4 separate regions of the Homo sapiens genome follow, and regions 1, 3 and 4 are each linked to region 2. The links are contacts of gene promoters, found by promoter capture Hi-C in human tissues and cell types (Jung and others, 2019). All regions are on one chromosome and are shown on one strand. The core of a region is centred on a gene start or on the middle of the fragment in contact, and the rest is flanking DNA. Distances in the headings are between cores, read along the strand shown.

Region 1 (6,759 bases), core at 2,853-5,352, 440 kb before region 2:
CTGGTCTCAAACTCCTGACCTCAAGTGATCCAGCCGCCTCAGCCCCTCAAAGTGCTGAGATTACAGGTGTGAGCCACTGCGCCTGGCTGTAATAAGAACTTTTATAATGAAGATAATTTTCCACTTTACGAAAGAAGATCTGCAGTTGTAGCTAAAAATACCTTTACTACAGTGATTACCGTCTGATCTCTAGATTTCAGCAAACCTGCAATTTAGTCTACTGGCTTAAAAAAAAACCCCAAAGAGGTACAGGGTGAGGCTCTTTCATTTTTTAAATGATGCTTTGAAATGCATCAATAATTCTGCAGCACTTGCCTCTCAGGAAGAGAGTCAGAAGAATGGACACATGGACAGAAAGTTAAAAAAAAAAAATCAGAATACCCCTAACAATCCTGCATGTTTTTCCCCAAAGAGTGACACTCTCCTTAGCAAAATTTGATTTCAGAGCTGGTCTGAAAGCTGCTGCCTCCTCAAGGGTCTAGCAGCTCTCTCCTCTGGATGCAACAGCAGAAGGAAGATGCTTGGAATGAGACCTCCATCCCCGGAGCTGTTACCTTGATAAATTATACAGTATCATTCTGCCTGAACTCTCTTTGTCAAAGTGTACTCTGATTTGAAGCTTTGATACTAATTTAAGCTTTATAATGTTGGATTTATTCTCTCAGTCTTAGTTTAATTTTAAGAAAGTGCAACAAAATTTGGAAGGGGTCTCTGCCTTTTATTTTATTTTTTTTGTGGTTGCCACAGAATCTCTTCCATGCTAACCTTGCATTTTTGCAACCTTGATCACCATGAAAACTGCATGCACCTGACTCTTCTCCAATATCTAGGACTAAATATACTGATAGAAGAAAAAAACATTTGCAAAACGTAAGATTACTGACCTTTCTTCATTCATACCAACTACAAATATTTACAAGAACCACTGTCAGTGTGGTCCACTCAGGTACATGGCCAGGCAGCGCTACACAGTGGAGAGCCCTTTGTTTATCAGGAGAGGAGGTGAACATGTCCGCTGCTCAGCGTCTCCTCTGAGAACACAATCTGACCGCTCCCTGGCACCGCCTGGTTCTCCCCAGCCGCCTGGTGGCCTCGGCGAGGCAGCTGTCTCCCAGGTCTGTGCTGCATCTTAAACGCTCTCTCTCCTGCCCAGCATAAGCACTGGTTCAATTGATAAGAAAATTAAAAATAGACACTCTTCCTATGCCTTTCATAGCACTATAGCATCCATGAAAATGTGGAACTGACGAGTGCTGGCTGTAAATACACGGCTGATCCCTTGGTGTGAAGTCTGATTTTTACTTCCTTTCCCTGCTACCCAGGAGTCCATAGGCAGATCCCTGCATTTCACGTGACAATGGTGCTAGCAGAACTTCCTGTCAAAGTTCAAGGAGACCCACGCTTCGTTTTGCATGCTCTGTGCGGTCACTGGAGACCACAGGAGGCCCACGTGGTGTCCTTTGTTTACAGAAATGCTTCTGGATCCTGGAGAGAAGGATCCATTCACGCACGTTCATCTACAAGATCTGACCCTTGCCTCTGATTTAGAAAATGGATGCGCTTTGGACAATGGTGTGTTCAGGCTGCGTTAAGGGAAGCTGCACTAATTGTTCACAGTGGCGAGAATGGTTTAGGAGATCACGGCGTTTGCCCCATACAGCTGCCCCGAAAGCGCCGCGTGTCTCGGTGGCTGGGTCCGCGGCCCGGCCTCCCCCACCCGCCAGGTGGCTCCACCTGCCCAGGCGCGCGTACCCGCGTGGCGCACAGGTCCTGCGGCTTGGTGCTCAGGTTCTGCGGCATCTCGCGGCAGCGCGTGGACAGGTTGAGGATGGCGGTGGCCGCCATGTGGGCCGCCTCCATGTCGTGCGTGTAGTCGAAGCTGCTCTTGCTGCACGTGCTGCTGGCGCTGCTGCCCCCGCCGCAGCTCAGGTTGCTGCTGCTGCTGGGCGCGTAGCTGCTGGTGCTGCTGCTGCTGGGGCTGGGGTCCTTGCAGTACCGCTTCGCTGGGGAGACAGGGACAGGGATGACTCAGGCCCCGGCCGCAGGGCACACGGCAGACAGCACACGGCAGGGCCTGCCCGCCCCGGCCTCAGCCACACACAGCCGCGTGGGACGGCCCTCAGGGTGCTGGGGCTTACGCGTAAAGAAAACAAACAACAGGCAAACGAAAACAAAACAAAACTTTCCGGCTCCTTTCTTTTTTCTTCTTTTTTCCTTTTTCCTTTTTTTTTTTTTTTTTGCCCTGGAGGATAATTCATCGACCTGTTGGAGAGGCTGCACCTCACACCCAGCACAGGCGGTCACCTGGTCCCTCGAAAGACAGACACACGGCTGGCTAGCTTTTAGGAGCCGCAGGGTGTAGGGAAGTGACTGGGAATTCCAGCCCAGTCAAATCCCAGTCGAGGCCCTAAGCGTGAGTGGGGCTCCTCCGCAGCACATGAGGGCTCGTGAGCACTTTTGGTGACCCAACCTGGATCCGCGGTCCCTTATCTGTCAAGAGGTGGGCTGTTCCTTTCAGCCAGAGGGGCCCCGGCAGCCACCTTCTGGGCCTGTGGGGACCACGTGCTTTGGGAGGTGGATTTCTGGCTGGGCATGCAGACCAGATAGGGTGAGTCCAACATCCTTTTTTTTCTAGAATTCTGATACAGGCCATGGGAGTGAAACGGGGAAATGCACATAGAGAATAAGCTCAGGATAAATGTCGAAACACCTGAGTGGCCACTTGGTGGTGGCAGACACGCGGGGCACGTGTGCAGCTGCCTCTTTCATAGCCACGGCCTCTCTGTTCCCTGCACTGACCCTCACTGACACGATTCCCACTGCCCAGTAATCCTTTCTGAGCCACCACACTCACTAACAGCCAAACCAGCACTGAGGGGCAAGGGTTATTTGTTAGAGCTATTTAAATCTCCTTTAGTACATGACAATGTTTCAGTCCAGGATTTATCCGATGGGTCCTTCTTTACTAATTGTTATCCCTGCCAGTTAATGTCACAGGACTTCATTTGTGCATGGCCAGACATTTCTCTTGGAATCCAGCAGAGTGAAGAGTTACTCAGAGGTGGACCTGGTCTCTCCCATGTCCTAAATCCCTCCGTCAGTGAGCCCCTCCCTTTAGGAAGCACCTTCTTCCCCAAGAGATCCCCGCCTGCTTCCCTGGGACCGTTGTGAGTGTAGCTGGGAGAACTTGGTGATAGGCTAGAGACACTCTAGCCCGGGTTCTCCTGGTGCTTAGGGCTGCCCTAGTCCTAATCGGCAAAGCTCCAAGCTGCCTAATTCTGATGGAAACTATGGTTTTGTCTGTTGCTACAAGGAAAGGGAGACCTCGCAGTTGGTCATGGCTCCTGCGGTGTCTTCTGTGCCATCGGCAGCAGCTCTGAACCTGGAGCCAGGCTTCCCCAGGGACTCCTTCCCACAGAGGAAGAAGAGAACAAAGCTAAGTGAAGCAAAAAGCTTTCTCACATTGCTGATACGGTCATTATGAGCAATGCTAAGAAATTGCCCTGGATTTGGATACAAAGGGAAAAAAGAAGGAGTCCTCATTGACAAGGTTTGGTTTGGGACTGAAGGCTCTCAGGACATGGGGAAGAGGTGTGTTATTGGTGATTCTGTAATGCACAGGCCTCTGCAGAGGAAGACTGAGGACAGTGCCCAGGCTGGGAGTTGGCCAGGCTGTCTTCGTCTCAGCCTCTGCCAAAAGCTACAGAGAATTCCCCAAGCAAGTAACCGCTTTACACCCAGATTCCTGTGCATGAGCCAGAGGCTCAAATCCGCACCCACAAAACCCATGAAATACAATAGTAATCTGTTGATATTATGACTGTGTTTTGCTAATCTGAATGAGCAAAGCCACTCAGAGTGGGCCCATGGCTGGTGGGGCACAGCTGTCCCTGAGAAGCGTGTCTGAGTGTCCCTCAGTGTGCCCCTCCCTTCTCTCTACTTTGGGATGCCCCTCCTCTAGGGAGCCCAGCAGTGCAGGGCGGGGTGGGCAGTGGCTGCTGGTCTGAGCAAGGCCCACACCAGGGCCTTTGAGAGAGACCACCGTGGGGCTGCAAAGGAGTCAACCAGAGGGAGACAGCAGAGGCTGTAAGGGCACCCCCACGGGCCCTGTGCAGTGCACACCTTGATCCACCCTAAGCAACCGTCACAAACCAGTTTGCAGTTTGTGATACTTTGGATATGAACTAAAGGTTGTGATTTTACATAATTTACAATTTTGTTAAGAAATAGTAGAATAATTGTAGGAGAAATGAAATAATAATATGGGGTTTTGTTTTTACTAGTGAGGGCTAGCCACTGGTTTAGGAAAAAAAAAAACATTGCCCACATAAATTAAAAAAAATAACACTTTTGTTTTGAAATGAGGGAATTTCAATTCCTAAAAAAAATTAAAGGAATAACACAAGTTAATGCAACAAACAACGGCAGCTGACATAGGTCGGCTGGCAACCTTGCACTCAGCGTTGGTGAGGGCGATGCTCAGGAGTGTGGGTGTGGAGGTGTGGCAGGAGCTCCCGCTGACGCCCAGAGACTTCTCGTCATGAGCCCCTCTCACAGTGACTCCTGCTACACTGTGCTCACAGCATCCTCCAACAGGATTGCATCTAGACTTCCACCACCCTGTAAGATGCTACCACATGCCTGCTTCACAGATGTGGAGACTGAGGCTGCCCAACGTCCACAAAGAGCCTCGACTGCCATCAACGATGTGTTTGTCTGGGAGAGTTCAGTATCTTATCAATTAGAAAATGCTACCCCAGCATCTCTATACACCAATAACATCCAGGCTCACCATCAATCAAGCAGGCAATCCCATTCACAGTAGCCACAAAGAAAAGGAAATACCTAGGAGCACAGCTCACCAAGGAGGTGAACAATGTCCACAAGGAGAGCTACAAAACACTGCTGAAAGAAATCAGAGACGACACAAATAAATGGAAAAATGTCTCATGTTCATGAATTGGAAGAATCAATATTGTTAAAATGGCCATACTGCCCAAAGCAATCTGCAGATTCAATTCTATTCCTATCAAACTACCAACGTAATTCTTTACAGAGTTAGAAAAACAATGATTCTAAAATTTCTATGAAATCAAAAAAGAGCCCAAATAGCCAAAGCAATCCTAAGCAAAATGAACAAAGCCAGAGGTTACACTCTACCTGACTTCAAAGTACACGATAAGGCTACAGTAACCAAAATAGCTTGGTACTGGTGTAAAAGCAGACACACAGACCAATGGAACACAATAGGAAACTCAGAAATAAAGCCACGCACCTACAACCATCTGATCTTTGATAAGGCCAATGAGAACAAGCAGTGGGGAAATGGTACTGGGATAATGGCTGAGCTATTTGTAGAAGAATGAAACTAGACCCATACTTTTGCCATATACAAAAATTAACAAGATGGATTAAAGATGTAAATGTAAGATGTCAAACTATAAAAATCTGAGAAGAAAACCTAGGAAATACCCTTTTCAACACTGGCCTTGGCAAATATTTTTTTTGACTAGGTCTCCAAAAGCAATTGCAACAAAAACAAAAATAGACAAGAGGGACCTAATTAAACAAAAGAGCTTCTGCACAGCAAAAGAAACTATCAACGGAGCAGACAGATAACCTACAGAATAGGAGAAGATATTCACAAACTATGTCAGATGACAAATGCCTAATATCTGACATCTATAAGGAACAAATACTTCAACAAACAAACCACAAATAACCCCATTAAAAATGGGCAAAGAACATGAACAGACACTTCTCAAAAGAAGACATACAAGTGGCCAACAGCCATGTGATAAAATGCTCAACATCACTAATCACCAGAGAACTGCAAATCAAAACCACAGTGAGACAGCATCTCATACCAGTCTGAATGGCTATTATTAAAAAGCCAAAAACAGCAGATGCTGGAGAGGCTGTGGAGAAAAGAGAACACTTATACATTCTTGGTGGAAATGCAAATTAGTTCAGCTACTGGACAGTAGTTTGAAGTTTTCCCAAAGCACTTAAAACAGAGCTACCATTAGACCCAGCAGTCCTGTTACTGAGATTTACCCAAATGAAAATAGATCGTTGTACCAGAAAGACACATGCACTCGTATGCTCATCACCATGCTCTTCACAATAGCAGAGGCACAGAATCAACCTAGGCGCCCATCAGTGGTGGATTAGATAAAGAAAATGCGGTACATAGACACTCTGTGATACTATGCAGCCATAAAAACAATAAAGTCTAAAGTCATGTCATTTGCAGTAACATGGATGGTGCTGGAGGCCACAAACCTAAATGAATTAATGCAGGGACAGAAAACTTTGTACCACATGTTCTTACTTGTAAGTGGGAGCTAAACATAGAGCACACAGGGACATAAACATGGGAACAATCGACACTGTGGACACTAGAGAGGGGAGTGGGTTGGAGAAATACCTCTTGGGTACTGTGTTCACTACCTGGGTGCAATATGCCCGTGTAATGAACATGCACAGGTACCCTCTGTATCTAAAATAAAAGTTGAAACAAAAAAGAAAAATGCTACCTCTATGTGACAACATTTTACTTGAAAGAATTTTTAACTAAAACGACTCTCTGCATTTCTTCCTCTCATCTTACTTGAATCACCTTAAATTATCCTGAAGTTATAAAATGTAGATGTGACGATGCATTGACTTTCCCAGATATTTAATTCATAAGATGCTACAACTAGATGACGCCAAGTGGATGGTACCGAATTTTAGTCGGTGACTGAACTGTCAAGA
Region 2 (6,433 bases), core at 1,770-4,269:
CAGACAGTGAAATAATTGGGTATATTCAAGAGTAAGGTACAAAATAGAAACATTTTCAAGAGAGTAAAAAATAAATAAATAAATTAGGTGAAAAACATAACAGGGACAGTGAAAACAGCATATTAAAGAAGTCTCATTCTCTGAAACTATCCACATAGTCCTAAGGTCATGCTTTGACAGCTTTTATAACCCCGAAGAAGACTAGGTACTCATATTCCTTTAATAATTTTTGTACACCACTCATATGTGGTCACAAATCATTGGGCCTTTACCTTGATCTCAGCTTCTAACACAAATTTGTGAAATTGGCATAAGTTCTGCTGTTGGATGCAAGTTTAACTCAAGAGAAGTTGAAATTTGTGTGTCATGCATACTTTCTACCTTACTGTGACACCAGATAGTCCTGGTGCATCTTTTCAAAGATGAATTTTATTAATAATTACATGTATTTGGATAAAATTTTCCAGTTGAAAAGTAATAATGTTTACAATTTTCCAACCCACAACTATACATATATACAAGTAATTTTTAACATATTGATATGTTTGAATATTTGGAAATAGAGTAAAATATGTGTATAATGGCAGATGGAAAGTCTTTACTAAATAAAAATGTTCAAGTATAGATATCTTTGCTGCCACCATCTTCAAAACATCCAAATGTGACCATGAAGGCTTCTCCTACTTCTACCTCAACTAGCACAATCATTAAGGTGATGAAAGTGAGCCATTTTCACATTGCCAATAAACTAGGAGGAAGTCAGTCACTGTTGAATGCAATCGCTATCAGCTGCGGACAGCTCCTGGTGCTGAAAGGGAAGGCAGAGAAGCCTGCTCACAATAGCTCACTCCACCAGCCTTTGAAAAATCACAGCAAAACTGAATGAGGTGGCAAGTGCTCAGCCTGAATAGCACTGTCTACAGAACAATGGCAGCCAACTCTAAATCCTACTATAATCACATTAATGAGATTAATCAGTGAATTAGCAGCAGTCAAATGTCAGGGAGGCAAGGAAGAATCCAACCAAGATTGGTAATTAACTTTTTGTGGGTGGGGGTGGGGAGGAGAGAAAAATCAACTGTGCTATCTCATAGGTTTTTTTAGATGTTGATAATTTTGATTCACGAATCTGAAGACTATATGTACAGATCAAAAGACAACAACATAATCCTTCATATTATAATATAGATCCAGATCTCATATTACTGATTCTTATAGTCCTCTGAGAAAGCTGATGTCACTTTAAATAATCTTCATAATCTATCAGAATTTTATTGTTTTAAATTCTTTAAATGCACAATTAATATTTAAAATAAACTTATTTCTCTGAAAATCAAGCTAAAATATAAAGAAATATGGCTGATTAAAAGCAGAAGGATTATATAACAACTGTTATTGTTTATGAAAAGTGTATGATAGTATGGTAAGAGTTTTCAAAGTGCAATCAAGTAAAGTACCATCACACACACACATCAGTAGTGGTCTATGTTAGTTAATAAAGAAAATTTATCACTCAAGTATAACTTTAAGGAGACTTTTAAGCAATTAACTTACTGCATTTGAGGTGATAGAATCATACATGTTCTTTTAGGTCAATCAGAAAAAACAAACTTCCTTTTTTTCTGGAATGTTTCTCTTAGTAGCATTTATAACTTACAATCAACACTTTGGATTCAAAGTTCTTGAGAGGTGAAAACTTATAGGAATGCAATGCTGTTTTTTTTTTTGAAAAGGAATATTTTATAAAACTCTTTTCTTTTAAAAATAATTACATTTTTATCTGTATGGGAGACATGACTTTATTATTTTTAAAGCTACATGACACTAAATGAAGATGAACAATTAGAAAGACCCTCATATGCCAGTAAGGGTGGTTTTGGGATGCTTTGGTCTATGACGTTAATTTTGTTTAGTAGAAAATATAAACATTTGAACAAAAAGGCTCTTATATAAAATAGTTTTACTCTAAGTAACTTAGAAATTATTTAGCTTATATAGCTTTGATGGTACAAGAAATTGTCATGGTTAATACTAAATTCAAAATCTGTTCTCTATATTTTATATAGCTAACTTTCATATAAATATTTACATATATATTTTTGCTTTATTCAGATCTATCTTAAAACTAAAGTGTAGAGTTTAATCTTTTAGTTTATTAATTTAGGTGTTACAAAAAGACATATTTCTGTTATAAATAACATTTTCTTTCATTATTATGAACTTCAAACATTTAAGTTAAATTTAAAAATCTTTATTTGAGTTTCTCCACTTAAACAATATAAATCAACTTTCTTCTTACCATCAGGTAAATTCATCCAAAATAGCTAACATTTTAATTGCCTTTGCATAAAATGATGTGCTTCATTTGTAATGTAAAGTAATCCAGTAAAGTCTCTGGGAAGTTTTTGTTTCAGTATCCTCTTATCCTCCAAACACCATACATGCACCCCGTTTTGTTTTTGTTTCTTTTTTTCTTAATAAACAACATCACAGTTAAGTCATGCAACCTAATACCCATTTTAGTTTAAAGACAGATTTTTTTGTGGATTACAAAGCCTCCAGTCCAGGAACATTTCAGCTACCAGCCATGCTGTAAAAATAACTTTAAAAAGGAGCAGACAATGGAATAGCAGCCTCAGCCCTTGAGCTACGGTAAAACACATCCTGCTCACTAAGTTCCCCGAAAAATTAACCTAACGAACATCACGTACCTCACAATGACCACAACCGCTCACAAGCGAAAGACAAGTTCAATTTTGGTAACTGTGCTGGCTCAAAATACACAGACAGGGAAGAAAACCCTGTTCCACCACAAGTTTGAAAGGATGATGAGACACATGCATGCCACCAAGACGCAGAAAAGGTGGCTTTTTGTCTTCAGTGAGTATGGATATCATAACCCATAGTCCAGGGAATGAAAAAATTAAAATGCACCCACCAACAATGAGCAAAAAACCCGGGGTGCTTCAACAAGACTGCAGGGAAAAGCTCTCTCACTGTTTAGTGTGCAGTAGCTTAGGGAAAAAAAAAATGTCGCCCGGGCAGGAATGACAAATGCAGCGCGATAGGCTCGCAGGCCTCAGGGATCTGTTTGACTTCCACACACCCCCATGCACACGCTCCCACTCATCCTCTCCTAGGCTTTTTTTTTTTTCCACATTTTTTTTTCACAAGCTCCAAATCCCCGGCATATGACCTTCTGTTAAATAGATAAAAAAAAAAATTGCTTATCAGTCATGCAAATGAGGCTGAATTCATTTTCCACAACAGATGGCCTCATAGATAATGATGATGGAAGAGAGAAAATTGAATGTCTCTCACAAGGTGGCCATGGCAACCGAGAGCAGAATAATATCAATAATAAACTCACTGCATAATAAGGTTGTCAGTCCTACAAATCAAAGTCTCCAGCTAAATCAGGTATACCACCCCAGCTAGTTACCAGGTAAATAGTACACACACACACACACACACACACACACACACACACTTCCACAGAGTGGCTTGAAATCTTTCATGGTCACTGTAAAATGTGTACGTGTGTGTGTCTGTTGGTGGCAAGAAGGGGTTGGGGGAGAGAATAGTTGGATAATGAAATGACAATGTGACTTTTTTCTTTTCCTTTCCTTTCATTATGTTTTCTGCAATAGACTCGGTTTCATGCAGGACCTTCTAACTAGCCATATTGAAATCGGGATGCGGTGCTGAAGGCTTTCTCTCCTCCCTCTGCCTCCGCGCTCTCGCTCTGATGTGCTGCATTGATGCAATAGCAGCTCGCCTCAGGCTTCCACCTTGGCTCCCAGGGGGACATCCTGCAAAATGAATCAGCAGCCATCCTGAGCAGGCTGATTAAAATGAAAATGGCAAGGCACATGTCTGGGCGGAACTGGAGCTCAGCTTTGCTGCTTGTCTGGCAAGCATGCTCAATATAGCTCTTGCTAATAATGGCTTACTGCCTTTCATTTTTTAAAAAGGTATCACCCTTTTCCCCCTTCACTGACTGGTGTTGTCTGTGTGTGTGTGTGTGGTGTGTGTGTGTGTGTGCACGTATGTGTGCGTGCATGTCGCGGGGGGAAACGAGAATGGATGGTTCTATTCTTCTAATTTTCTGCTGCTCACATGCAGACTGCCTGCCTGACAGCACCATTATTTTAACACTGAACTTACTTCAGCTTTTCTTTTGGGACAGGGTGGGGGGGCGGTTGATAAGTCTTGGGGCAGAAGGGCTAGTTTTAAAATCAAGCTGCCTAAAAGGCCCAGACAAGATTTTTACACTCCAGATTCAATAATTTCTAACCAAATCTGAAGCAACAGACCTCGAGAGAACTCCGATGCTCTGCTTCACAGGCTCACAGTTGGACATGCTGAAACACAGCCTATGAAGAAACCTATTTCTGTTTCGAGCATTTGCAACCAGCCTGTTACTGTATCCTAGATATTATGCAACACAGAGAATTAAAACAGAGAAAGCTACTAGCTAATAAAATAATCGAACACAATTGAAAAAATAAATCTTGGATATTTTGTTGTTTAAAATTCTCAGGCATAGCTTCAAGATTGCCCTCAAATAAGCTTTACTTTGCAGCACCTCTGCCGAGTATTCCAGGGTTTTTCAAGGCATTCTGGAAATTAGACCATTATCACCTCTCAAAAAAATGGTTGAAAAATTAGAACGAATAATTTTTCTAAACTCATTTTACTCTACTTCTCCTATACATCTTATTCTATGTTATAAACAGTCTTTAAATTTTGCTAAATTGTCAGTTTTGCTTTCCTTTGGTAACAGATGCTTGATTTTTGTATAAAACTATCTATCTACTTATTTTTGTCTTTGTAATTCCTGTTTCTGAGACGTGATTTTTTTTTCTTCTGAGCTCTAGCCCTGTTGCTGCAGTGTGAATCAGAAATCAATAGCGCTGCCCTAATGGAGACTCCACTCGGCACGCGGCAAGGCAGCTGCAGTCTCCTCTCTCTCTTTCTCTCTCTCTCTTGCACACACACACACACACACACACACGGAACTAATGACGTCTGTGCAGCTTTTTCAGCTGATTGGGCACCACATCGGATGTTCTGTGGAGCAAAGAATAGGAGTCATTTACAGTCGGCGGAAAAAAAATGGGAGCATATATCCTTCTGTGTGTAAGACACTGATCCTGAGCTCCCCAGGCAAGCAGCATGTGGGTAAGGACGGTTCTTCGTGTTGTGGTCACCACGGGGTAAAGAGCGCCTCCAAAATGATTATAGAACTGGAACTGCAGTACAGTGGGAGTATTTGTCCATTTTGTAAAGGACAAAGCATTCCTCTAAAAAAAAAGTGAGCACAATAAAATTCCCACGCAAATGCGAGTGTTTAGGTCAAATCGTGACCTCCTGGGTATTATTTAGGCGTTTACATATACATTATATTATTACTTCCAAGGAATTCCAAATGTACTTAAAAAAATAAAGTTCAAATTAAATGAATATATATGTATGTACACACACATATATACACACATATTCATGTAATCATTCCCTATGAGTTTATCATAGTTGTGTTAATAATAAATTCTTAGTTAAAATTCACCCCCACATACCTTACCTTACATTAAGAAGAAAGAAATCTGTAAATAATACTGACACAATATTTTAAATCACAGATTTATACATGTATATGTTTTTCTTACACATTTGTGCATGTCTATGAAAACAGAATGTATATTTGATATGGGGCACCTGCACACACACACGCAGGCACAATATTCTTTCAACAGCTTTGGTTACCTTAAGCTGTAGGTGTAACTCACTGCAATGACAGGCTGCTGTGTTGATAAGCATAGTATCTAATGTTTTACCCTTAAGGTAAGGCATCCCTGGACCCAGCAGCATTAAAGAACACGTCTTCCCTTACCACACTGTCACTGCATTTCATTCAACCTCATCGTGTTGACAACAACTGCCCCAGCCTGAATCGGGCTCCAGTGAAGCATTTGTATTCTTTCCACCCATTCTCTGCATGACTTTTAGAGCTGAGATACCAGCCCTCAAATGGCTCAAGAGAAGAGGAAAAATGAATGAATCATGAAGCCACAGAGCCACAGCAGAGCAACACTGCAGTCTGCATTTTGCAGTTACATTGTAGCTCACTTGATACAGTATGATTTCTTCAAAAATGATATCGAGTACTCTGCAGTAAGGTACCATAAAATCCTTTATGATGTAGAAGAACTGGGGAATACTCAAATGACCATTTAGATTAAAAATCTGTAGTTTGCGATTAAACCGTATAACCAAATGTTTTGTCTCTAAGTATCTGTCACCTGCCTCCTTAAATTATTTCTAATATATTTTGTACTTCATGTATTAGTTTATTCCACATGTTAAAGCCCTTGGTATTAGGAAATACATATGTCATTAATTTTGTTTATTTATGTATGTATTTATTTATTTG
Region 3 (5,885 bases), core at 2,125-4,624, 360 kb after region 2:
TTACCTCCTGTTCCTAATGATAATAATAGCAGTTGCTGTGTCTATTGAATTCTTAAATGTACCAGACATTATGTTAGTAATTCTATGTGTGTGCTATCTCCTCATTACATTAGACCTAAAAATGGGTGTTCTATTTCCATTTTGCACATAAGGAAATAGAGGGTAAGGTGTGGGCAGGTGCTGTCTCTAGGGGTAGAGTGTGGGGCAGACATTCTTTCCCTTTAAATGACTTGTTAGATTTTACATAGGGCCACAAAGATGAATACATCTCCCACTGCCTCTGAGAAGCTTATACAGATGAAAATATGTAAAACAAGGTTAAAAGTGACAAAAGACATAAGAAAGTCTGATAGAAAGGTGAAGAAAATTCAGAGAAGAAAGGATCATTCTCTACTGGGGGGATTAGGGAAGGTTGTCTAGAAAGGGGATTCGGAGAAGAGGGAAAGGGGCGAGGAGCAGAGGCTGGAAAGCACAGAGAACCCAGGCAGGCTCATTCTGATGAGATCATCGAGACACGAAGATTTGATGTTTTACATTAGCAAAATTATATATTATAACAGAATTGTCTAATCACACAAGAACACTTATAAAAACTGTGGCAGATGTATGCAGAGAGAGCACAGGAAGTGGTCACGTGAGGAGCCAAAGCCTGCAAAGGAAACAGCCGCAGCAGCCAGGAGGGACGGGATGCAGAGGAGCAGCTGGGAGGTCTAGGAAAAGGGCAGGTCAAGCTCTCCTATGTCCAGTGCAGAGACGGACCAAGCAAAACCAAGGCTGGGTTGTATCTGCTTCCTTTACCATCAAAGAGGACATCGCTGAGCTCAGGGAAACGTGGGATGAAGGAAGAACAGAAGAGGAAGGCAGAGAGGACGGCAGGGACTCCATCTGAGGGGAGATAGCAGATGAAGAGGAAGAAGATAGATGATTCTTTCAGGAAGGAAGGATGTGAAGAGAAGAAATAAGCAGCACTTGGAGCGGGCAAGGGAACCAAGAAATGTTCTTACTTTACTTTTTCTTTTTTTTTTTTTGTATTTTTTTTGGAAGAGACGGGTTTCGTCATGTTGCCCAGGCTGGTCTTGAACTCCTGAGCTCAGGGTATCCGCCCGCCTCAGCCTCCCAAAGTGCTGGGATTACAGGCTTGAGCCACCGCATGTGGCCCTGTTCTTACTTTTTAATGTGCTGTTTAAGTGGGAGAGACATAAGCACATGATGTGCCTGCAGGAAGGGGCCCAGGGTGACTGAGGTGGAGGATGCAGGAGCCAGCGTGGGCCCTGGAGAAGGCAGGAGCCAGGAGTGAGAAGAGCTGCAAGCAGGGGCCTGGCCGTGGGAAGAGGCCTCCACCTGTCACATGGAAGTCTTGCTAGGGAGAAGGAAATCATCCTTATAAACACACACCAGGGCCTGCTGGGGGATGGAGGGCGAGGTGAGGGAACTTCGAGGACAGGTCAGTGGGTGTAGCAAACCACAATGCACACGTTAACCTATGTAACAAACCTGCACGCTCTGCACATGTATCCTGGAACTTAAACTAAAAAATAAAAATAAACTATCTTCATGCATCCTTTTTCACCTGCATTTCTGATGACATAATTAGTACAGATAAATGACCCACAGTTTGATGTATCCGTCTCAGGCCCCCCACCCCCCGCACTCTGCCAACCACTCAAGCCCACAGGCCCGCCTCCCTCCTCAGCAGGCCTTCGAGAGGCCCCACCTACCTCCCAGCCTTGGAGACAGAGGCAGGATCCTGGGGGAACAAACAGCTCCTTGATGTCCTGTCACCCCCAGCTGATCAGGAGCTTATGGGAGAGAGAGTCCTCTTCAAAAAATTGTCTTTACATGGTGCATGAAAACATGCTACTGGACAAATTTTAGTAGAATAAAACTAACAATTAGCAGGAAAAATTGTTTAGATTAAAAGAGGTTATTCAGATTTTTTAGGAGTAAAACTCAAAAGAAGCTTGATATTTTAAAATATATTATTGCAACTGAAAACCTAACTATGAGAGTTAGAATTGCATGTCCTGAGGATGGACGTTTGTCAGGATTGGAGCCCAGGCTTTAAGGGGGTCCTGGCAGTCCCCTCCTGGCACTGTCACCCTGGCAGCCTCTCCTCCCCTGTGAGGGTGGATGGGACCTGCGGCTGGTTTCTACTCAGCAGAATGTGCCAGTTGCAGGGGTTAGGGACACCATGCCTGTGATCACACTGCACTACCCTGGATGCCGCCTCTCCAGGAGACTCACACTGGAGGTTCTCCTTGCTGGCTTGATGAAGCAAGAAAGACCTGCCAGCAAGGAACTGCGGATGACCTCTAGGAGCTGAGAATGACCTCGAGGAACTGAGGGTGTCCTCCAAATGATGGACAGCAAGGACCTGGGGCCAGTGATCCTGCAAACACTAGGAGATGGATTCTGCAACCACCTATGTGAGCATGGAGGTGGATTCTTTCACAGTCGAGCTTCTAGAGGGGAATGCACCCTGGTCAGCGTCTTAATTGCAGCCTTGTGAGACCAGAACCAAAGCCCCTGCTAACCTGAGCTCTGACTCCTGCCCCACAGGAACTACAAGATCATAAATACTGTTTATGCCACTGCATTGTGGTCATTTGTTACCAGCCGTGGATGACTGACAGGTGACAGGAAACCTCCTGGCAGCTCCTCTCACCTGCTTCCTCCCTATGTAGGGCCTCTCTTGACATCCCTGGCCACGAACGCAAGCCTCTTCCCAGCCCCACCACACTCACGGGGCTGATGAACTTTAGGCTGCCTGTGCTGGTTTTGGACAATTTCTCTCATTCTTCCCATTGGTGATTTGATATCCTACTTTCTCTCGGTTTCTCAGTGTGAGGGAGACCCAGACACATCACAGGTCTGTCCTTAGTGAACCGGGCACACAACTGGGGCCTGTTTCTTAGACCCCTTGCACACTCCACACTATATGTCTCAGCGTGGTGTCGAGTTTGTAGTTTGGTTCCTCCTGATAATATTCATGTTCAAATTGAGATGCTTCACCTCTTAGAGTAGCAAGGATACAATGCACTTTGTCAAAAAACAGTACGTTTGTTGTTGAATCAAATGGTCTTCCAGGGGGACGGCTTTTTGAAATCCTTGAAAATAGTGAATGGGAACTCAGTGGTTAACAGAACAAGGTGTCCTGGTCAACACGGCACAGGAAAAAATTGAGGGACAACCCTGAGTCTCCTCACAGTATAATTTCCCCATTCCCTTTCGAGGCCATATCTTCTGCCTCTCTGTTGCTGGGCACCTCGTCATTAAATCAGAGACGGGAGAGGCATTCGATCATCGAGATCATTTCTTTGCCAAGGCAGAATTGATCCCCGGAGGATGTTATGTCTTTGCCTGGTCTAATCTTCCGCATCTCGGGAAACTCCACCGCACCTCCAGGGACAACTTCCCGCGGAGTGAGAGAGCTCGTCGCCTGTTCTTCCTAATCATTCTACCAACTTTTTCCTCCTCCAATCTGCCCCATTACTTCAAGTCAAACCTCCTGTATCAGGTCTAATGAACCCTCACAGCCTCCCATTAACTAGTGCTGATGGCTCTTATGACCCCATTCTGTTGTCAGCCAAATTGTCATTTAATATTATTTATTCCCACAGTTCCTCTTGACAGCCTGGATGTTGTGGCGCTGAACCGTGTGGGTAGTCAGGTGCTCCTAATCCTCAGACAATGCTTGTTTTCTGAACCCTTTCTGAAGTAGGGATGTGCTTGCCAGCTGCGCTTACGCCCTGCGCGTGACGGTTTGCAGGGAGCAGGCGTCTAACGGCTCCGCCTGGGCAGGGACCTTCCCCAGAGCTCCTCAATGCTCTGCCCAGAGCAAAGGGCTTACCCGAAACCCTCCCGATCCATCTCAGCAGGTGCATTTGGAGAACAGAACTCCCCCAGAGCCTGCCTGATGTAAAACTAATGCCTTCGAAGTTTCAGAGCCAGGGATGGGGCTGTGGGGACAGTAATGACCAGGACACAGAGGGGCGTTTCCAGGGCTTTCTGTGTCCATCATTCCAGGGCACCAGCCTCAGACAGAGCCCTCTTGACTAGTTCTGTGGCCGGGGACACAGCGCTCATGAGGGGCCAGTTGTCTTCCTCCCAATCAGGTGCCCTGGGGAGACATCAACTAGGAAGACCCCCAAGGCCCTCGTCTGTGGAGAAAGCCTGAGTGCCTGATGTGGCTCACAAGCCACTTCAAAGCCACCGCTGTGGCTGCTCGGGTGTGGGATCCGGCTGTCCTGCCCATTCGATGTTCCAGCCCCACCTGGCCTAGGTACTGCTAGAAAGGTGGGAGGGTCTCATCAGGCCACTGTGCTGGGTGACACCTGGGGGCTGCAGCATGGGGAGGAGCCGTGGAGTGCAGCAGGCAGCCCTGACCACTGCTTGGTAGGCTTGTCCTCACTCCCCCACCCTCCATGCATGGGCTGCTGTCCTCACTCCTCCACCCTCTATGCATGGGCTGCTTTCCTCACTCCCCCACCCTCTATGCATGGGCTGTTGCTGTCTGGGTGGGATCCTCCAGGGTGCCTCACCCATGGGAGCTTAGTCCGGCACATTCTCTGGTTCTGTTCTTGCCTTCTGCCTCCCATCTGCTGCCTCCTCTCCTACATCCTCTTCCCTGAGTTCACACCACCCTCTCTCCTCCCTACTCACACTGTTCCTGTTTGGCCCCAATCTCCATGAGCTGGCTTCTGGCACGGGGATGACCCCAGACCAGGGAGACGGCCCAGGTCCCTGTCCACAGCCACCTTGCTAAGCTCAAGTCCCAGGAACCATCAGCTAGGCAAAGCCTGGCCACATAAAGCAAAGAGTGGCTCTTGAAGGCCAGCATCCAGGACTGCAGGCTCCAGGCGGTCTGCCTGAGTGAGACCACACCCCAAATAGCACCTGAGGGGCATGAGCAGAGAAAGATGGGAATGGCTCACTGGTCAAACCCACAACTCTCACACTATCACCTGTCACACACATTCGTCACTCACACCCGTGGTTCTCAAAAGCTCACACCATTAATCTCTCACACATCTTCATGTCTCACACCTTCACCTCCCACACCCTAACCTCCCACACACATTCACATCTCACACCCTCCTTTCTCACTTCCTCCCCTCACACTCCCTCCCCTCTCACTCCCTCCCCTCTCACACCCTCCCCTCTCACTCCCTCCCCTCTCACTCCCTCCCTTCTCACTCCCTCCCCTCTCACTCCCTCCCCTCTCACTCCCTCCCCTCTCACTCACTCCCTTCTCACTCCCTCCCCTCTCACTCCCTTCTGTCTCACTCCCTCCCCTCTCACACCCTCCCCTCTCACTCCCTCTCCTCACTCCCCCCTCACACCCTCCTCTCTCACTCCCTCACAAAGGTAACTAAGGCATTACTGCCTCCCATCTAGAGAGCTCCAACCCCGGCCCAGGTCTGCCACTGTCATGTCCTGATTGATATGGTTTGGCTGTGTCCCCACCCACATCTCATCTTGAATTGTAGTTCCATAATTCCCATGTGTTGTGGGAGGGGCCTGGTGGGAGATAACTGAATCATGGGAGCGGTTTTCCCCGTCCTGTTCTCATGGAAGTGGGTAAGTCTCACGGGGTCTGATGGTTTTCTGAGGGCTTTCTCCTCTCACTTGGCTCTCCTTCCCTCATCTGCCACCAAGTAAGACGTGGCTTTACCTTATGCCATGATGGTGAGGCCTCCCCAGCCATGTGGAACTTTCAGTCTATTAAACCTCTTTTTTTCTTTATAAATTACCCGGCCTCAGGTAGGTCTTTATCAACAGCATGAAAACAGACCAATACGCTGAGCTTGAGCGAGGCACGGCACCGATGAGCTCTCCACTCGTGAGAATCAGGGATCGGGCTCTGTAAGGGTGACCACGCTCTG
Region 4 (6,507 bases), core at 1,753-4,252, 340 kb after region 2:
GCTCCTGATTCCAGGTCATCTTCACAATGCAACTGAAGCACCCTTCGAGCTCTGTCTGTTCCTGATTAAAACTGTCACCTGAAGAGATGCCACATGATTGCGGAGGCCAGAGAAGCGGCCGAGTAGGGCTGCCTGGAGTCATTGTCCACCTCGGCCTCCACAAAAACGGCCTCCCTCATGCAGAAGACCAGCCCTGCAGACTGCTGGCCATAGTGGGCCACACCTGTCATTCGCTTAGCGGAATCTTGATTTGTTCAAAAGAATGGCACCCTTGCCTCTGTGGCTGCAAAAAAACTTCTGGCCAATGCCCAGTGGTCCCGACAGGCCCAGGGGAACTCGACCAACCCCTCCACCCTCAGTGGCCAGGGGCCCCACACCCATGGCCTCCAGTGCGGACCCTGCCTGCCCGTGGGCTGTGCTCCCTCTTCCCCCACACCGTACACTCCCGGCTCATTCCTGCCTTGGCTTTTTACGTGCGAAATACAAATCCTCCGTTCTTCACTCTCCTGCAGCCAAGCCTGCTTCCCGGGGTCTCAGCAGTGTCTCCAGCCAGGAAGCCCTGAGTACTCCCTTGGTGTGGGACCTCCAGGACAGGCCTGCGAACTGCTGATGGTCTCACCCAGGGTGACGCGGGTGATTCTGGCGGCGTGTGAGGGGTCAGAATGATTCACAGAAGGGCCCCGAGGATCAAGGAGGTGTCCAAGGGGCTGCTGCCAGCCAAAGCTCGGAGTGAAGCTGCATTCACGGAGCCCAGGGAAACGGCAGGAGCCTCACTTGGGGCGACGCCTGGTCCAGGTGCAGCCACAGCGGGTTTGCTGCATCTCTGTGTGGAGCAGCCACAGCTCAGGTTCTGTTCCCCCCACCCCCCTTATCGGGCTCCAGTCAGGCCCCAGCACACACATGGCCCGGTGGTGGGACACGGGTGTCAGGTAGCTGCTGCAGGGCAGGGCTGAGCAAACAGGATGTACCTGCCCCTGGCTCAGGTGGGCTCAGGCCCCTTCATGCAGCGAGGAGTCAGGGCCCCCGAATCTCTGGGAGGACGCATCCTAGGGGATTTCCTCCACGGTGTTGGAATTGAAGGACTTAATGACGTCCCTTCCCATGCGCACAGTGTCCCAGGCACGTGCCTCAGCCTCACATGCCGGGGCACAGGGCTGCCCTGCGAGGTGGGAGGAAGACCTAGGTGAGGACCCGGAGCCAAGGGCTTTCCTGACCGTGAAATTGCAGGTGAGGACCTGGAGCCGAGGGCCGGTTCTAGCTGCTCCAAGCGCCCGAGGGCCAACGTTGGCAGTGGCCTCCAATGCCCTGAGCCTCATGACCCTTCATCAGCGTGACTGGTGACAGTGGCCACAGGCCTGCGGACCTGCCTGGCCAAGCGGCCTGGGGGAGCTGGCCCATTGAGTTTCTTTCCTGGTCACTAGGAACTAGAACACAGAGGTGTGGGTTGGCTTCTCTGGATGCTTGAACTGAGAAAAGTTAGAAGTCAGATGGGACCCAGAGAGGGTGGAACATTTTTGAGCTATAAAAACGAGAGAATGGGACAGAGCAGAGAGGCAGCAGTGGAAGGTGGGAGTCCGAGAAGAGGGACAGAGTCACAGAGGGAGAGCAGGACCCCTGGGGCCCCACACCCCAGCCCTTCATCCAAGCCTGAGAGGGGTTTGTGGCCGCTCCCACCCCTGGAGCCCCTGAGCTCGGACCGCATCCCCCGACCCCTTGAGTCCCTGAGCTGGGACTGAGTCCCCCAACCCCTGGAGCCCCTGACCTGGGACCACATCCCCCGACCCCTGGAGCCCCTGACCTGGGACCACATCCCCCAACCCCTGGAGCCCCTGACCTGGGACCACATCCCCCAACCCCTCAAGTCCCTGAGCTGGGACTGAGCCCCCCAACCCCTGGAGCCCCTGACCTGGGACCACATCCCCCAACCCCTGAAGCCCCTGGGCTGAGACTGCGTCCTTCAGTGATCTCAGCTTCGTGTTTCTGAGCTAACGGCAGCACATTCCAACTCCAGGATTGCCGAGCTCGTGTTCATCCCTGAGCTTTATCGAGTGTTCTCCATGGGCCAGTTACCCCCCATTCATTCTATGTGTGCCACTTCAAGGAAGATTCATGTCTCGCCTACCATGAGAATACTACTTCATCTTGTCCCCATCGTACACATTTTAAAATCAGAAAACAAAAATATGAGACAGAGAGAAAATGGGTGGTGTGCATGACACAGCAGGACCAGGAGGCCACAGAGTGCCTGGCCGGTGCAAGAGGGAGAAGCCTAGGGCTCTGCACTGTCCCACGGAGATGGAGCTGCCCAAATGGAGCAGGTCGCCCTGACACTGAGCCGGTCTCTCCTCCTCTAATTCATGCTTAATTGCCTTTCATGAAGCCAGCTGTACAAGGCAAAATGCCTTTGCTGGGCTGCCTTTTGAAAAGTTCTGCTCAGTTCGTCTCCCGCTCTCCATCTTGGTTCAGCCCAGGCTGCCATCTCCCGTTCCTTCACCACTGCAGCCAGGCACCTCTCCAGAGTCAAGTCCAACAATGCTGGTCCTCACTTCACTGTCTTTATGGTTCCCCAGAATCGACCTCCAGTCTATTTCCATATTTTCAGGGTTCTTTATCACCTGACCTCTACCTGAGTTTACTCCTTCACCCTGTCACCCCAAATCCAACTTCACAACCCAACCCCAGAGCCAGCACGACCTTATTTGCTCATGATACTGACAAAAACACAACAGGAATTCCTGCCTGGTGGAGCCTGCAGTGTCTGGGGGAGACAGACAATGAAGAGTGAACTGAATGAATGAGAAAGCATAGAGTTTGTTAAAGGTTAAATGTGCTGTGAAAGAAAGAGGAAGCAGAGGGGTCCAGGAGGCCCAGGAAGGTGAGCGTGGGGGATAAGCAGAGTCAGCGAGGGTGGCCACGTCACCCCTATTGAGAAGGAAGTGTTTGAGGGAAAGCTTGCAAGGATGGGGGAAAGAATCCAACAGGCTCTGGGGGAAGAATTCGAGGCAGACAGAAAAGCCATGAGAAGGCTGGGCGTGGTGGCTCACGCCTGTAATCCCAGCACTTTGGGAGGCCGAGACAGATGGATCAGGAGATCAAGACCATCCTGGCCAACATGGTGAAACCCCGTCTCTACTAAAAAAATACAAAAGAAATTAGCCAGGCTTGGTGGTGGTCACCTGTAGTCTCAGCTACTTGGGAGGCTGAGGCAGGAGAATGGCGTGAACCCGGGAGGCAGAGCTTGGAGTGAGCCGAGATCACGCCACTGCACTCCAGCCTGGGTGACAGAGCAAGACTCTGTCTCAAAAAAAAAAAAAGAAAAAAGAAAAAAAAAGAAAAGCCACAAGAAGGACCTTAAGGGAGCTGTGGAAGAAGCACTTCACAGGGGGAAGATCGTACCTTCAGTTCCGGACGGGCGAAGCTGGAAAAGCCTATTTGACACTCAGGCCGGATGTGAGGTAGACAGAGCAGGAATGGGTGTGAGCTGGAGAACATCTATCAGCTGGTGAATCCTCGTCAGAGAGACATCGTTGAAAATGGAGGGAAATGCTACGAAGACCAAACATTGAGCCCTGAGTCAAAAGGGCCACAGTTAAAAGGTCTTCAAGATGTGTAAGGACCAGCAGGGAGTCTGAGAATGAGCAGTGGGTTCAAAGGGAAACCAAGATGGCACCATGTTCTTCGAGCTGGTGAGTCCTGCTTTCCAGGGACAATGGGCCATGACTACGCTGAGGGAGTCCCAGAAGGGCAGCCGCATGGGGCCTTCGTCATCATGGGGCCTGGGCGAGGCAGAAGTCCAGCTGGAGTGAGTTTAAGACAGAAAAGAAGGGGAGGAATTGGAATTCACAGGATGACCCAAGGGTTTTACTGCAAAGAGGCACAGATCCCTGGAGCAGCAGCTGAAAGGGCGGATTGGGTGAAACACATTACTAACTAAAAAAAAACAGATGGCTACAAAGACCCAAGGAAATAGCATTGATCTGAGAAACAAAGAACTGCCATTTGAATATACTGAATCAGGGCAGCCCTGAAGAGCGTCTTGCGAGGCAGGCGCGTGAGGGGGTTTGGAAGGGGATTTTCACAAAAAGCTGGTTTTCGAGGCCTTTCCTTGATGAGGCCCTGAGTCCTACTCAGCCCCGCTGTCCCCAGGTCCTGGCCGTGGCCTGGTAATCACATGGCCCATCACCGTGTGGTGGACAAGAAGCTGCACAGCCAGAGAGTTAAGCAACTGCGCCAGCGCTGCCTAAGTCAGCCGCTCCATGGCAACGCCAAAAATCTCAGGGAAGCTGAAAAAGCAAAACCTTTAAGGAAGCCAGGTTTATATTGCATTTAGGGTCACTCTGTGAGTCCTGCAGCTGGGACTGGACACGGATACTCGTGTATCCTCCGGAAGAGATGATGGTCAGTTCTGAGGGCTGTGCCTGTCTCCAACATGGCCATTTGTTGGCTTGGCAGAGATCCTAAACTGCAAACCTGTTCTGCTTGGTGAGATAATCAGTGTGGTCCTAGTGAAGAGTTGTAGAAGGCTGGGGGACAGTGACTTCAGTTGCTTCCTCAAGTCTACCGGAGCATCTAGCAGGTGTGGGTGCAATGCTGTCACCATCTTCCAACCCCTCTTTAGAAAGCCTTAGTTACCTCACCTTCCACATGTTCCCCTTTTGATCAAGATCTTTATCCAGAAGGCATCTCAGATTAACCGGTGAGTCTGATTTTGTTCTTTGTCGCTGGGATATACCTGTCCCAGGGAGTCACGTTCCTTATCAGGGGGTCTCTAGGCCTATGGAAATGTAAGACTAGACTGTGTTACATTTGAGTTAACAGGTGGTTTTGAAAGGAATGCTGTCAAGCCTGCTTAGGTCCCCAGAATTGTCAGATCAGATGTGTTTTCCACATCATATGCTTGATGAATATCATATCGTGCTTCTAAGGACTGTTACTTTGGTTAAACTGATTTCTAAGCACACGTGGATAAGGAGAAGTGACTTAAGTTTTACAAAAATAACAGCAATAGTCACGAGACTGAGTAACAAAAGCTGAAGACTGGATTTTAGCCACCTTCCGAAGAGATCAAGTAGCCGAATATTCCATGGTGAATGCTTTATTTAGCTAAGTAGTGAGAATGTTTCCAACTCGGGCTCTACTTTTTTAGATGTATTTATTCCAGTATAACACGAGGTACTGGCTACAGCACTAGGGCAAGATAGAATTTAAAGTAATTCTGTTGTGCAAGGGAGTGAAAGACAAAAACTAGGAGTATAGAGAAAGCAACAGATAAGAAGCCAAGTATTTCAGGTATTTCCGGGAGCTTAATGATATCCAGGCCTGGCCCAGGGGTCTTGGGTGTGTGGTCACCTTTAGCTGTTCTCTGCTCCACTCCTAGGTCGATTTTAGCTTCAGGCCTCTAATTGTTTCTGAATTCCAGCAGGGGTAGGAACTTCCTTTAAATAAGAAGTGTGAATCCAGAGTGAACCTTTTAGTTTGGCAGCACAGAAATGGGCAAGGAGCACCTCATATGGACCTTTCTATTGAGGTTGAGGCAATGATTTTGTAAATTTTTCTCCCAAAAGGCAAAATCACCAGGAGGCAGGTTGTTCTATTTGCTGCCTTCATCTCCTGGAAGCACACTATGGAAAGATTGTTCTACCAGAGTATGATTTGCGTCTAAAGCCTTAATTATTCCTTGATAATGTTGGAAACTGTCTCCTTTGATGAACTGGATGTTAAAAGCAGAGTGGGCTAAATGTATTGGCCATCCAGTAATAATTTCAAAAGGTGACGAGTTATGTTTTCCAAAAAGTGCATACCTTAGACTCAAAAGGACCAGAGCAAGTACCTTTGTCCAGGGCAGCTGTAATGCCTCCTCAAATTTCACCAGTTGGGTTTTGAGAATGCCATTTGTTCTTTCTGCCAATAAGGAAGATTGGAGATAAGCACAAGGAAAGGGTTGAAATATGGGCCAATCTTGGCAAATTTGCTCTTTCTCATGGCCAGTGAGGTGCATTTCTCAGTCACCATATAAGTCTGAGGGTTTGCCCCATGTAGGATAACCTTTTCTAACAACAGCTTTGAAACCGCTGAGGTAGTGGCCTGTCAACAAGAGAGTGCGTCTACCCAAACGGAAAACACAAACCATGGTTTATAACCTTGATAGGGAGGTAGCTGGATGAAATTCACTGGCCAAATCTCAAAGAGTCCATTAGGCAGATCGAAGTGACCTGGAATTGTCTAAATGGTCTCTGCTGGGTTGAATTCTGGACAAACAGTGTGAGACAGCTGTGCCTCTGTAGTGGCCCTTGAAATGTTTCTCTAACAATACTTTATCATAGAATAGAAGTTCACCAGTTTCCCAGCAAATCATCTCAAGGATCATTTTCCTTAGGGGATCTTCATAGATCATGGTGATATTGGTTTATTAGTGGGACCATACCGTAAGTTTATCTTTGGGCCAAAAGTGCAACCATTAGTCCAATAAGATTTTTCTTTATGTGCTCAAGACTGAGCACCTTTTAA

The links. The method cuts DNA at HindIII sites, captures the fragments that hold promoters and counts their contacts. A contact is called where the count stands out against the background at its distance.
Region 1: a fragment that was not itself captured here is called in contact with the fragment with the promoter of MYT1L in region 2 in 1 of the 25 tissues and cell types used here (hippocampus).
Region 3: a contact is called between a fragment that was not itself captured here and the fragment with the promoter of MYT1L in region 2, in 1 of the 25 tissues and cell types used here (H1 embryonic stem cells).
Region 4: a contact is called between a fragment that was not itself captured here and the fragment with the promoter of MYT1L in region 2, in 1 of the 25 tissues and cell types used here (dorsolateral prefrontal cortex).

Annotation. Positions count from the first base shown.
Region 1 is chr2:1,890,285-1,897,043 of GRCh38, forward strand. MYT1L (myelin transcription factor 1 like) reads right to left here. Exons shown (of 25, transcript NM_001303052.2): 15 at 1,753-2,003. Among named protein-coding and RNA genes, the nearest start is that of PXDN, 150 kb to the left of the region's middle. The HindIII fragment of the contact is 6,948 bases long and covers 629-6,759 here.
Region 2 is chr2:2,328,256-2,334,688 of GRCh38, forward strand. It overlaps MYT1L (myelin transcription factor 1 like), which reads right to left and starts at 3,020. Exons shown (of 25, transcript NM_001303052.2): 1 at 2,712-3,020. The HindIII fragment of the contact is 11,173 bases long and covers 1-6,433 here.
Region 3 is chr2:2,685,778-2,691,662 of GRCh38, forward strand. No RefSeq gene overlaps it. Among named protein-coding and RNA genes, the nearest start is that of MYT1L, 360 kb to the left of the region's middle. The HindIII fragment of the contact is 4,500 bases long and covers 1,125-5,624 here.
Region 4 is chr2:2,668,265-2,674,771 of GRCh38, forward strand. No RefSeq gene overlaps it. Among named protein-coding and RNA genes, the nearest start is that of MYT1L, 340 kb to the left of the region's middle. The HindIII fragment of the contact is 4,186 bases long and covers 910-5,095 here.